Linked DNA regions of Homo sapiens: all the other regions are linked to region 1. The links are contacts of gene promoters, found by promoter capture Hi-C in blood cells and fetal thymus (Javierre and others, 2016). All regions are on one chromosome and are shown on one strand. The core of a region is centred on a gene start or on the middle of the fragment in contact, and the rest is flanking DNA. Distances in the headings are between cores, read along the strand shown. Region 1 holds the start of ITFG1 (integrin alpha FG-GAP repeat containing 1). Region 2 has its middle 57 kb from the start of DNAJA2-DT. Region 3 overlaps DNAJA2 (DnaJ heat shock protein family (Hsp40) member A2).

Region 1 (3,248 bases), core at 460-2,959:
AAGTTCAATGTTCAAAGTAGCAGAGAAATAGAAAGGATGAACATGGGAAAAAGCAGCTGATCAAGAGAAACTGAAGCCAGTGGATTCTGCGAGGAGTCAGATTGGTTGACTTAAAAGAACCATATAAAGATGCCTTATAACTATACTACATGTCAAGACTTGTCTTCCCCGAATCTAGCAATGCTGTCCCTTGTAAGGCTGTTTGGTTCATTACACAGATGCATCACACCAAGGATGCAGGGACTCCCATTGTAGATATCTGACAAAGACATAATTAAGCATGTGAGCACAAAATGCTGAATCCTCCAAGACCCTCCTCCTATGGGGCCATCCTCCAGAGGGTGACACATTCTTGGAGCTCAATTAGCACTCATTGAGACAGACTTTTGGAATTGTTTAATCAAACACAGGCCATCTTTAAAGTCAAGGCTACTCTCTGTATCCAGTTTGGACACAGCAGCAACAGGTTTGGCAGTACACTGCAAAATGAGGAGTCAAAAAGATTGGGAAAATATTCAGGGTTTGTAAGAGGTTCCTGCATCCCCGCAAGGGCTCCAAGAAGTCTGGTTCAGGATCCTGTCAGGCAAGCTCTGAGTAGCTCTTCCTTCCTTCCTTCACAGCATTGATCTTTAAGCAGCACCTGCTTCTGTAGGTACTCAAGAACCCTAAGACCCCCTAATGCCCACTGTCAGCATCAAGATTTACAAAAAAGTTAGTTTAACGATTGTCAAAGCAAAGAATTTCCAAGAACAAGTTAGCAAAGAAAGTAGACATTTGGAACACTAAGGTGATGACCAAGATGAGGAAGGAGTACACGAAAGAACAGGCAGCTCAAGAGAGAAATTTCTGTAGTTTGAGACTGCTTTCCCAAGGAGGCATTGGGTTTATCAGTGGTCCCTGCAAAATGCTTGTGTGAGCTGTTTAGTGTTTAGGCCCTTGGAAGGGTACATTCGCTTCATAGAAAGTTGTGGCCTTGACAAAGAAAGGGGTGGGCGAATTAGGTAGGTGGGGAGGCAAGAAGAAGCCCCCTATGAGAAGAGATTGTCAGGTTGCACCTTTTCATGTTCATCAACGGGGAAGGAAGACTGAAGCAAAATAGAAAGGAATGAGTGGGCCTTGGGAGCGAACGTTGAGGCAAGCTACAAAGATTCCTAGGAATCAGGAAGCACTTTGGAAAACAGGTGATTCCATGGGGAGGAGGGGGTAAGGTGACTGGGTGAGGGCCGCAGACTTCTTAGGAACAAAACTGAGGTGCTGTCAGGGCTTTTGAGGGTAGGTCAAACTGTAGGGTAGCTGGGTCAGAACCTGGGGTTGGAAAGGGTGGTGCAAAAGGACAAGCTGTTAAGAATGCTAAAGGGAAGGCCACAGGGCTGGGAGAGAAGGACCAGGAAATGCAGAAGGACCGGCCATTGGGCAATGGGTTTGGGGAACACCGGGAGAGGCACACGGACAGCGAACAGAGGGAGGGCCCGGCAAGCACTGACTTTCCCGCAGCACGAAGAGATCCGTCTGCTTGTCGGAGTTGAGGTCCCCGAAAGCCGCAAGGGTGCCCCAGGCCTCGGCCCCAAAGAGCTCGGCCGTGACGTTGTGCAGCGCCCGCGCTGGGACCGGCCCGACTCCCAGTAGTGCAAGCCCTGCGAGGAGCGGCGAGAAGAGGGCCCAGGAGCTCGGGAGCCGGCCCGCCGCCGCCATGGCAGCCCCTCAGCCCCCGCCCGCCGGCCCAACGCCGCGCTTGACGACAGCCGCAAAGCACCGCGTTACCGGCCGAGAGAGTGGCGCGCAGCCCCGGGACGCGTAAGAGCCGCTGCCGGCTCCTTTTTCTCTCTCCCACTAGGGCTGCCCTTCCGACGCTAAAAAAGCAGTGGAGCTAGGGTGAAAGCCGCCCTCACGCTCACTTCCGGCAGGCGCGCCTCCCGACAGTGTCGTGCGGGGGGCGTGGCCCGGCATTGCTGACAGGCGGCCCCGGGGGCGGTGGCCAAGGCGGCGACCGGAGCGCGATGGCGGGGGCGGCGGGACTCACGGCAGAAGTGAGCTGGAAGGTCTTGGAGCGAAGAGCTCGGACCAAGCGCTCAGGTTTGGCTGGCTGGGGCGCCGCCCCCCACCCGAGTACCTTGGGTGGTGCTTCGCCTCAAGCGCCTTGGCGGGAGGCAGGTGGGGGCCCTGGGAATGAACCTGTGCCCCGAGTTCCTCCTTAGAAAGCAGGTGGCGGCCCTGGCCTTGTTTCTAATATCTTCCTCCACCTCTAAAAATTAGGTGGCAGAGCCAGCTCCACTCTGCGTGTGCCCCCGACTCTATTCCGCTTGTGAGCCCCACTCGGAAAGTAGGCAGCGGTCCGGACTTCCCTTAGAGTCTTCTAACTTAAAAATCGGGCGGCGGCACATTCCTGGGAAAGGGAATGTGTCTTCCCTGTGAATGTGTCTTTCCTGTGAATGTTCTCTGCAAAAGTCAGATAGCTTAATCAGACCAAGTCAGATGTAACTACGATCTGGCTGCAGAAAGCCGGCGTCTGGGCTCCTTGCTTTATGTCTTATATCCCTTTTACATTCCCCACAGGTTCTAAGCAGTAGACCTGTCATCTATCTAGCAGAAACTGAAGGAGACTGGGCCTCAGATATTGAAGAGTATAGTTAGGGCCCAGAAAGAAAAGGGCTTCTTAAGTGGCCCCAGGTTGTGTGGTTTCCAAACCCGAAAGCATAGAGGTCAGAAGGTGCCTTGCAGGCAGTTTTAACAGTTCCAAGTGTCCCGAACTGACTTGTTCAAATTGCAACGTCATGACTTGTGGCGTTATTAAAACTTCCTGTATTCCTGGTTGGCTGGATATAATCTTGAACAAAAGGCATGCACTTAAACAGGAAAGGTGAAAGGCGGAATGCAGGTTTTCAGCTAAGGAGCTTCCCTTTTAAAGAATTGATGAAGTGTCATTATTGGGGGTGGGTGTGAAAGGTGTTAGCTAGGAAAATTAACTTTGCACTTGCATTGATATTAAGAAATTATTTTCGGACGGGCGCGGTGGCTCACGCCTGTAATCCCAGCACTTTGGGAGGCCGAGGCGGGCGGATCACCTGAGGTCAGGAGTTCGAGACCAGCCTGGCCAACCTGGTAAAACCCCATCTCTACTAAAAATACAAAAATTACCTGGGCGTGGTGGCGGGCGCCTGTAACCCCAGCTACTCGGGAGTCTGAGGCAGAAGAATTGCTTGAACCTGGGAGGCGGAGGCTGCAGTGAGTGGAGGTCGCACCACTGCACT
Region 2 (3,269 bases), core at 144-2,643, 430 kb before region 1:
AACATTTACTTTTGCCACTAAGTTATTGCTCCTTAAGGCTTTCTGTGAGCGATAGTTGAACACAATAGGGTTATAGTGTTTTAATAGAGAGAAATACAGTCTTTATGAAATAAGCTACTGTTTAGATAGACTCTTTGGCTTAGTAAAAGTGGTTCTTATCTAAAGCTCAGTTTCTGAATCGGGAAAGGCATTTGTTAGAAGCGTCATCTAGCACGCTTCAGTGCTGGAAACAGAAGCTGGGCAAGAACATAAAAAATCCATTTATAAACTCAATGAGTCTTCTTTTCATAAGTAGCAACTTGTCTCCTGAATTGGTTGAGACTCAGTTCTGACTGTAGACATAGTTCTGCTCTAGAAAGCTCTGACATGATTCCAGTCTATTAGTGCCTTGGAGGGCACAGAACTGTACCTTTAATGCAGCTCTTGGTCTAATCTTCCTGCCAGAAAGGAACCTGCAGAACTCCAGGAACCAAAATTGCTGCTGTAAAATTGGAGGTTGACTAGGAAAATGCCTTTTCCTATCAAGTCACGTGTGCTGGGGTAAGAAACGTATGAAATGTCTTTCTGTGCAGGGTGAGATGATAGGGGCTCAATTTCTGCCTCTAGAAGGTTATAGTGTGAGAAGCGCACAGGGCTGAAGGGGTCTGCAGTGTTCGTAGTCATGGAATAAGTGCTCTTTTAGAATAGAGAGATTTCGTCAGTAAATAAAGGACGTTATATATTGAGGTGCCAAAAGGCTTGATTTGAAATAACATCAGGCATAATTTATGAGTTAGCCACTGACTTGTTAGCCTATTGTATAAAGCCAGAGGTTAAACTGGGCCAAGGCCACAAACAGCCTCATAGGGCCATTTTGTTTGGATTTAGGGAAACAATGGCTTCCTATAAATGGTTCTTAAATGTAGCTGATCTTCAGAGTTGCCCAGGAAACTTTTAAAACACAAATTCTCAGGCCCGTTCCCAGATGTACTGAATGAGGAGTGGGAGGATGAGGTCCAGGAACCCTGAGTTTGGGATTCAGGTCACTGGATGGGACCTTGGAGAAAGAATTTAGGCCAGGCAGATCTGGTTTTCAATCTTGCCTGTGTGACCTTGAGCAACTGTCTTGACTGTTCTGAGCTTCAGAACCTTTAAGAAGAGTAACTTTGGAGTGAGTTGATGAGACAGCACATGTCAAGTGTCTCAGAGGATTGGCATCAAGGATGCTTTGCTCCAGCAAATGATGCCACTGACGCCACCGCCCTTTGGGATTTCTGTGGACATGATGCCCAAGTAAACCATAATCAGATTGCCACATAGCAGGTCAGGCCACTGGCTGAATCTCAGAGAGGAAGTGTTTGACATCCTGGTTCTTTCTGATAACCTCCAATTGAACCTAATTAAATGTGTGTCCACCCACTCAAAAGCCAACAGCAGGCCAGGCATGGTGGCTCAGGCCTGTAATCCCAGCACTTGGGGGGGCCGAGGCAGGCAGATCACTTCAGGTCAGCAGTTCAAGACCAGCCTGGCCAGCAAGGTGAAACCCTGTCTCTACTAAAAATATAAAAACTAGCTGGGTGAAGTGGTGGGCGCCTGTAATCCCAGCTACTCAGGAGGCTGAGGCAGGAGAATTGCTTGAACCCAGGAGGCAGAGGTTGCAGTAAGCCGAGATCGTGTCACTGCACTCCAGCCTGGGTGACAGAGCAAGACTTTGTCTCAAAAAAAAAAAAAAAAAAAAAAAAAAAAAGGCCAAGAGCAGGTGGATGGAACCAGTTGAGCAGCCTGGTGTAGGCCTTGGGGCTTCCAATTCACTTGAGGGACATCTCTTGCCCTGGGTCCCCTAAACATGCGATAATCATGCTTTGTGCTTGTAAGCCTCAATATCTCCAAGGCTCACTGGCTTCTCACTATAATTGGGTGAGGGGATTGCCTGTAGGCGATGTCCCCCAGACAGCTCCTGGCTGGCCTGGATCTTCTTCAGCGATCAGAAACTAAGGGAAATCAGGGGCATTTGGAGGCACAGGTTAAAATGGCTGAGCTTCCTGGATTGACAATTGTACTGGACGCTTGGAAGGAACAGCATTATTCCCTCCATAATAGCTTTTATTTATTTAGTGTTTGCTTTGTGCCAGGCATTTTTTTTTTTTTTTTTTGAGACAGTCACCTTGCTCTGTCACCTAGGCTGGAGTGCAGTGGTGCAATCTCAGCTCACTGCAACCTTCACCTCCCGGGCTCAGGTGATCCTCCCACCTCAGCCTCCTGAGTAGCTGGGACCAAGGCATGTGCCACCAGGCCCAGCTGATTTCTGTATGTTTTTGTAGAGACGGGGTTTCACTATGTGACCCAGGCTGATCTCAAACTCCTGGGCTCAAGCAATCCTCCCATCTCAGCCTCCCAAGTAGCTGGGACTACAGGCGTGTGCCACCAGGCCCAGTTAATTTTTGTATTTTTAGTAGAGATGGGGTTTCACCATGTTGGCCAGGATGGTCTCGATCTCTTGACCTCATGATCTGCCCACCTCAGCCTCCCAAAGTGCTGGGATTACAGGTGTGAGCCACAGCGCCCAGCCCCATTTTTAATTTAACTTTTTATTTATTTATTTTTAATTTTCTTTTGAGACAGAGTCTCACTCTGTCACCCAGGCTGGAGTGCAGTCGTGCTGTCTCGGCTCCCTGCCACCTCTGCCTCCCGGGTTCAAGGGATTCTCCTGCCTCAGCCTCCCAAGTAGCTGGGATTACAGGTGCGCGCCACCATGCCCAGCTATTTTCTTGTATTTTTAGTAGAGATAGGGTTTCACCATTTTGGCTAGGCTGGTGTCGAACTCCTAAACTCAAGTGATCCACCTGCCTTGGCCTTCCAAAGTGCTAGGATTACAAGCATGAGCCACTGCACCCAGCCTAGTTTAAGTTTTTAAATGGAATTTTAAAAATATACACACAGGGAAATTCAGTGAAAGGAATGATACATACACTTCAGAGGGATGAGGGAGCCATCAGTCACTGGCCAAAGGCTGTTGCTGGAGAGTTCTAACTTCCTGGCATCTCCAGTCTGCCTTGCCTAGGAAGAATGGCTTTCCCTGTCTTCCTTGTACAGATCCTGGTGGTTAGGCGTGTGCCAATGCCATGGACAAGGTCAGTCCTGTGGCATGTGGGTCAGGCACCAGCAGCATCTGCTATAGAGGCTGAGGGTGAGGGAAGTGTCTCAAAACAGACACAGGTAGGTGATTGTAGGTTTCTGGGTTTTGCACTGGAAGGTTGGGGAATCCTTCCTTGAGACAGAGAGCACCGGAG
Region 3 (3,644 bases), core at 1,101-3,600, 500 kb before region 1:
CAACCTCTGCCTCCAGGGTTCAAGTGATTCTCTGGCCTCAGCCTCCGAGTAGCTGGGATTACAGGCACATGCCACCACACCCGGCAAATTTTCGTGTTTTTAGTAGAGATAGGGCTTCGCCATGTTGGCCAGGCTGGTCTTGAACTCCTGACCTCAGGTGATCCACCCACCTCGGCTTCCCAAAGTGTTGGGATTATAGGCGTGAGCCACCATGCCAGGCCTTTTTCTCATATAAGGTACTTATACTGTACCAAATGGTAAACAGAAAACTGTTTACTTACCATTGTGTTACAACTGCCTATGCTAACAAGCTGTACAGGTTTGTAGTCTAGGAACAATACACTACACCATATAGGTGTATAGTCGGCTACACCACCTAGGTTTGTGGAAGTACACTCTGTTTGCATGATGAAACCGCCTAACCATGCACTTCTCAGAATAGGTCCCTGCTGTTACTGTGCTGATCCATGCTGCCGACAAGGATAAACCCTGAAAACATTAAGCTAAATGAATGCATCACTAAAGGCCACATATTTTGATCTCATTTATACAACATGTCCAAAATAGGCAAATATTTAGAAGCAGAATTAGCCATTAGTGATTACACCAGGAGTTGAGGAGAGAATGGAACAGAAAGTGACTTAATGGATAGAGGGTTTCTTCTTTGATGAAAATGTTCTGAAATTAGTGGAGATGGCTGAATATACTGAAATCAACTGAATTGTGGCAAATTTTTTAAAGTGGTAAATTTTATGGTATGTAAATCATATCTGGAATAAAGCTGTTACAAAAAATTATCTGTGCTGGTGACACTGTATGGTTGGTTCTCTCGACAGGTGCTCTACAAACTAGAGCAAGGAGACCAAGTGAAATAACACACCTTAACAGAAACTCTCTTCCAGTAGTTTTCTTGCCTACAGTCAAAACACCTGGGTAGAAATGAAAGACAGACTACACTGAACAACTGTTTTATAAACCTTTATTGGAAAGGCTACAAACTTTATATTGCCACCACATTTCTTATGTTTAAAGTGGTTGTGGGGAAGTAACCTTGGATACAAAACTACTATGCTGTTGAATCTTACCCAGGCTTGTTGTAAAATATTTTTTGTACAATGGAGGTAGAGTGGATAGGTCAATAATTTAAACCTCACAGGACTTGATTAGTGTCAGCACACCTTTTTTCATTCAGGTTTTCAGGTTCTAGCAGACCTAGAAATAAACTACAAATACTAGATTTAGGCTCAGGGATGGCATTTAATACATTTAAAATTTTTAGTTTTCAGTTTTCCCCATTTGTTCCTTTATAAATGTAAAATTGTGCATCTGATGTCTCTTTCCTCAAATAAGTGTGTTCTAAAAATACCTACTGAGTGAAATGGTAAAAACCAGATGATGGAAAGAGAAACACAACATCCGTTTCATCAATTTTACCTGATTTTTCTCAAACCAGCCTTTTTTTTTTGCTTATTTTTAGTTTGAAATATAAATAACTACAACAATGCATATTTCAGTTGCCTTCATTCTTAAATTCTGAATAAGCATCTTACTTTTCTATAAAACATTACAGAAACTCAAAATAATAATCAATGGCTTCTCCAATTCCAAATATTCAACTTAATGGAGACAGCATCTTTTACATTTAATGAAAACAGAGGATTTGAACACGTTCTATGCAGACATGGTTTTACTATAGATTTGCTGTTACCTTATTTTTTTAAGGGGGTGGTGGTAGGGAGATACAGAAGTCAGGCTAGCCCAGTGCTTGGGAGTTACAGCACTCAAGACACCCTGGCCTCTACAGAGCATCACTGAAGCCACTGAAGACTGTCTCTACCAGCCTTTTGTCTTCCAAGACTATAAGATGGGCATAGGCCTGAGATATAAGCTTCAGGCCAATGGGTTTTTATGGGCTGTTTAAGAACCAGTACTAAGGATACATTCTTTTATGTTTTTCCTTCTAAAAATGTGACACAAAAGAATAATTTACACCAACCGCTTTTTATTATCGAGTTTCAGAAACCTTTCACAAGATGGTAAAAAAAAAAAAAAAGAAAAAAGAAAAAAAAAACAAAACCAAAAACAAAAAAACTTTACAACCACAGCTAATGTAATTTTTTCCATTGTTCCCAGTCAGCTCCAAACCCATTGTGTGCAAAGCCCATTTTTTTCCATGCATCTAAATGATAGATACAGGCTATGAAATTCTTTATTCTATTTGTAGCAGCTTATGCAGGTGCAGCCAAACACAAAGCTTCAGGACAAATTGTACAAACTTTACAATGTGGGATTTAAATTTAAAATATGAAACATAAAAATCTACACAAAACTGATAAAAATCAAGCACAGATACCAGGATTGAAACTTATAATAATCCATGTGTGAAAGGGAGTCTTGTTTCCTTTCAAGTGCTTTATTCTGCTATGGAACAGTCAAAATGAAGATGTAAAGCTTTGTGGTTAGTTTAAATTATACACTCTGTAGATACTATACCAATTTTAAAAGTTATACATAGACCAACAGATGTCCCTCAGTTCATCTGGATTGATAAGACACTCCAGCTGGATTGCTGAGAACAAATCAGGCAAATGTGGAAAGAAAATCCACCTGTGCAATTTGTTTGCAGAGTTTACTGATGGGCACACTGCACTCCAGGTCCATGATGGCTGCTGCTTTCTTCATCAGAGCTATCATTATAGGCTTCACGCCTCTGACCACCTCCTGAGCCTCGAGTGCTATCAAATTCCTGAAGCTCTACCTCCTCTGTTTCTCCAATTATGTTAGGAACTTCCGGTCTAGATGGCAGAAGATCTTCTAGTTCCTTTATTAAAACAAACAAAAACCAGGTTGGTTGTAATATTTTCATCAACTTTCCTTTTGATACATAGAATCCAGTGTCTGTTTAAGAGTTTAAAAAGGGGCTGGGTGTGGTGGTTCATGCTTATAATCCCACCCAGCACTTTGGAAGGCTGAGGCGGGCGGATAATGAGGTCAGGAGATGAGACCAGCCTGGACAACATGGTGAAGCCTTGTCTCTACTAAAAATACAAAAAATTAGCCAGGCATGGTGGTGGGTACCTGTAATCCTAGCTAGTCAGAAGGCTGAGGCAGGAGAATCGCTTGAACCTGGGAGGTGGAAGTTGCAGTAAGCTGAGATTGTGCCACTGCACTCCAGCCTGGGTGACAGAGCAAGACTCCATCTCAAAAAAAAAAAAGTTAAAAAAAGGAATGTGGACTGGACTTTGAACTCTAAGTAAAAGATCACAAACTCATCACTCACAGGCCAAATTCTGCAGACATCTTTTGTGCAACCCATCTATTGCTTTAAGAACCAAAAAAAAGGTCATTATCTGCCAATACTTAAACATTAGAAAGTTTCTACAGGAGACACACCTTCCTGCATCCGGCATGGACACCAGCTTACGATAAAGGGGTAGTGGTCCTGCCCTCTGCAAATGAGGAACCTGTTCTCTCCAGGGAGTGCTACTCCTCATCACCACCCACACCGGGTCTACTTTACTCCTCTACAATTCCCTGCTTGGCCCCATCAACATTTACACCAGCAATACCCCATTTCCTAACAACTAGGAAAGCCTACCAATCACACAAATATACTTTAAAATTGAAAGTAACATGACTATTAA

The links. The method cuts DNA at HindIII sites, captures the fragments that hold promoters and counts their contacts. A CHiCAGO score of 5 or more calls a contact.
Region 2: a fragment that was not itself captured here is called in contact with the fragment with the promoter of ITFG1 in region 1 in 1 of 17 cell types (neutrophils); the score reaches 5.3 in neutrophils.
Region 3: a contact is called between a fragment that was not itself captured here and the fragment with the promoter of ITFG1 in region 1, in 1 of 17 cell types (naive CD8 T cells). The highest score is 5.0, in naive CD8 T cells.

What each region holds. Positions count from the first base shown.
Region 1 is chr16:47,459,354-47,462,601 of GRCh38, forward strand. It overlaps ITFG1 (integrin alpha FG-GAP repeat containing 1), which reads right to left and starts at 1,710. Exons shown (of 18, transcript NM_030790.5): 1 at 1,485-1,710. The coding sequence starts at 1,692. It overlaps PHKB (phosphorylase kinase regulatory subunit beta), which reads left to right and starts at 1,978. Exons shown (of 31, transcript NM_000293.3): 1 at 1,978-2,073. The coding sequence starts at 1,998. RefSeq lists a silencer at 1,619-2,088. The HindIII fragment of the contact is 8,409 bases long and covers 1-3,248 here.
Region 2 is chr16:47,028,787-47,032,055 of GRCh38, forward strand. No RefSeq gene overlaps it. Among named protein-coding and RNA genes, the nearest start is that of DNAJA2-DT, 57 kb to the left of the region's middle. The HindIII fragment of the contact is 9,259 bases long and covers 1-3,269 here.
Region 3 is chr16:46,954,400-46,958,043 of GRCh38, forward strand. DNAJA2 (DnaJ heat shock protein family (Hsp40) member A2) reads right to left here. Exons shown (of 9, transcript NM_005880.4): 9 at 963-2,821. The coding sequence ends at 2,630. Among named protein-coding and RNA genes, the nearest start is that of DNAJA2, 17 kb to the right of the region's middle. The HindIII fragment of the contact is 197 bases long and covers 2,253-2,449 here.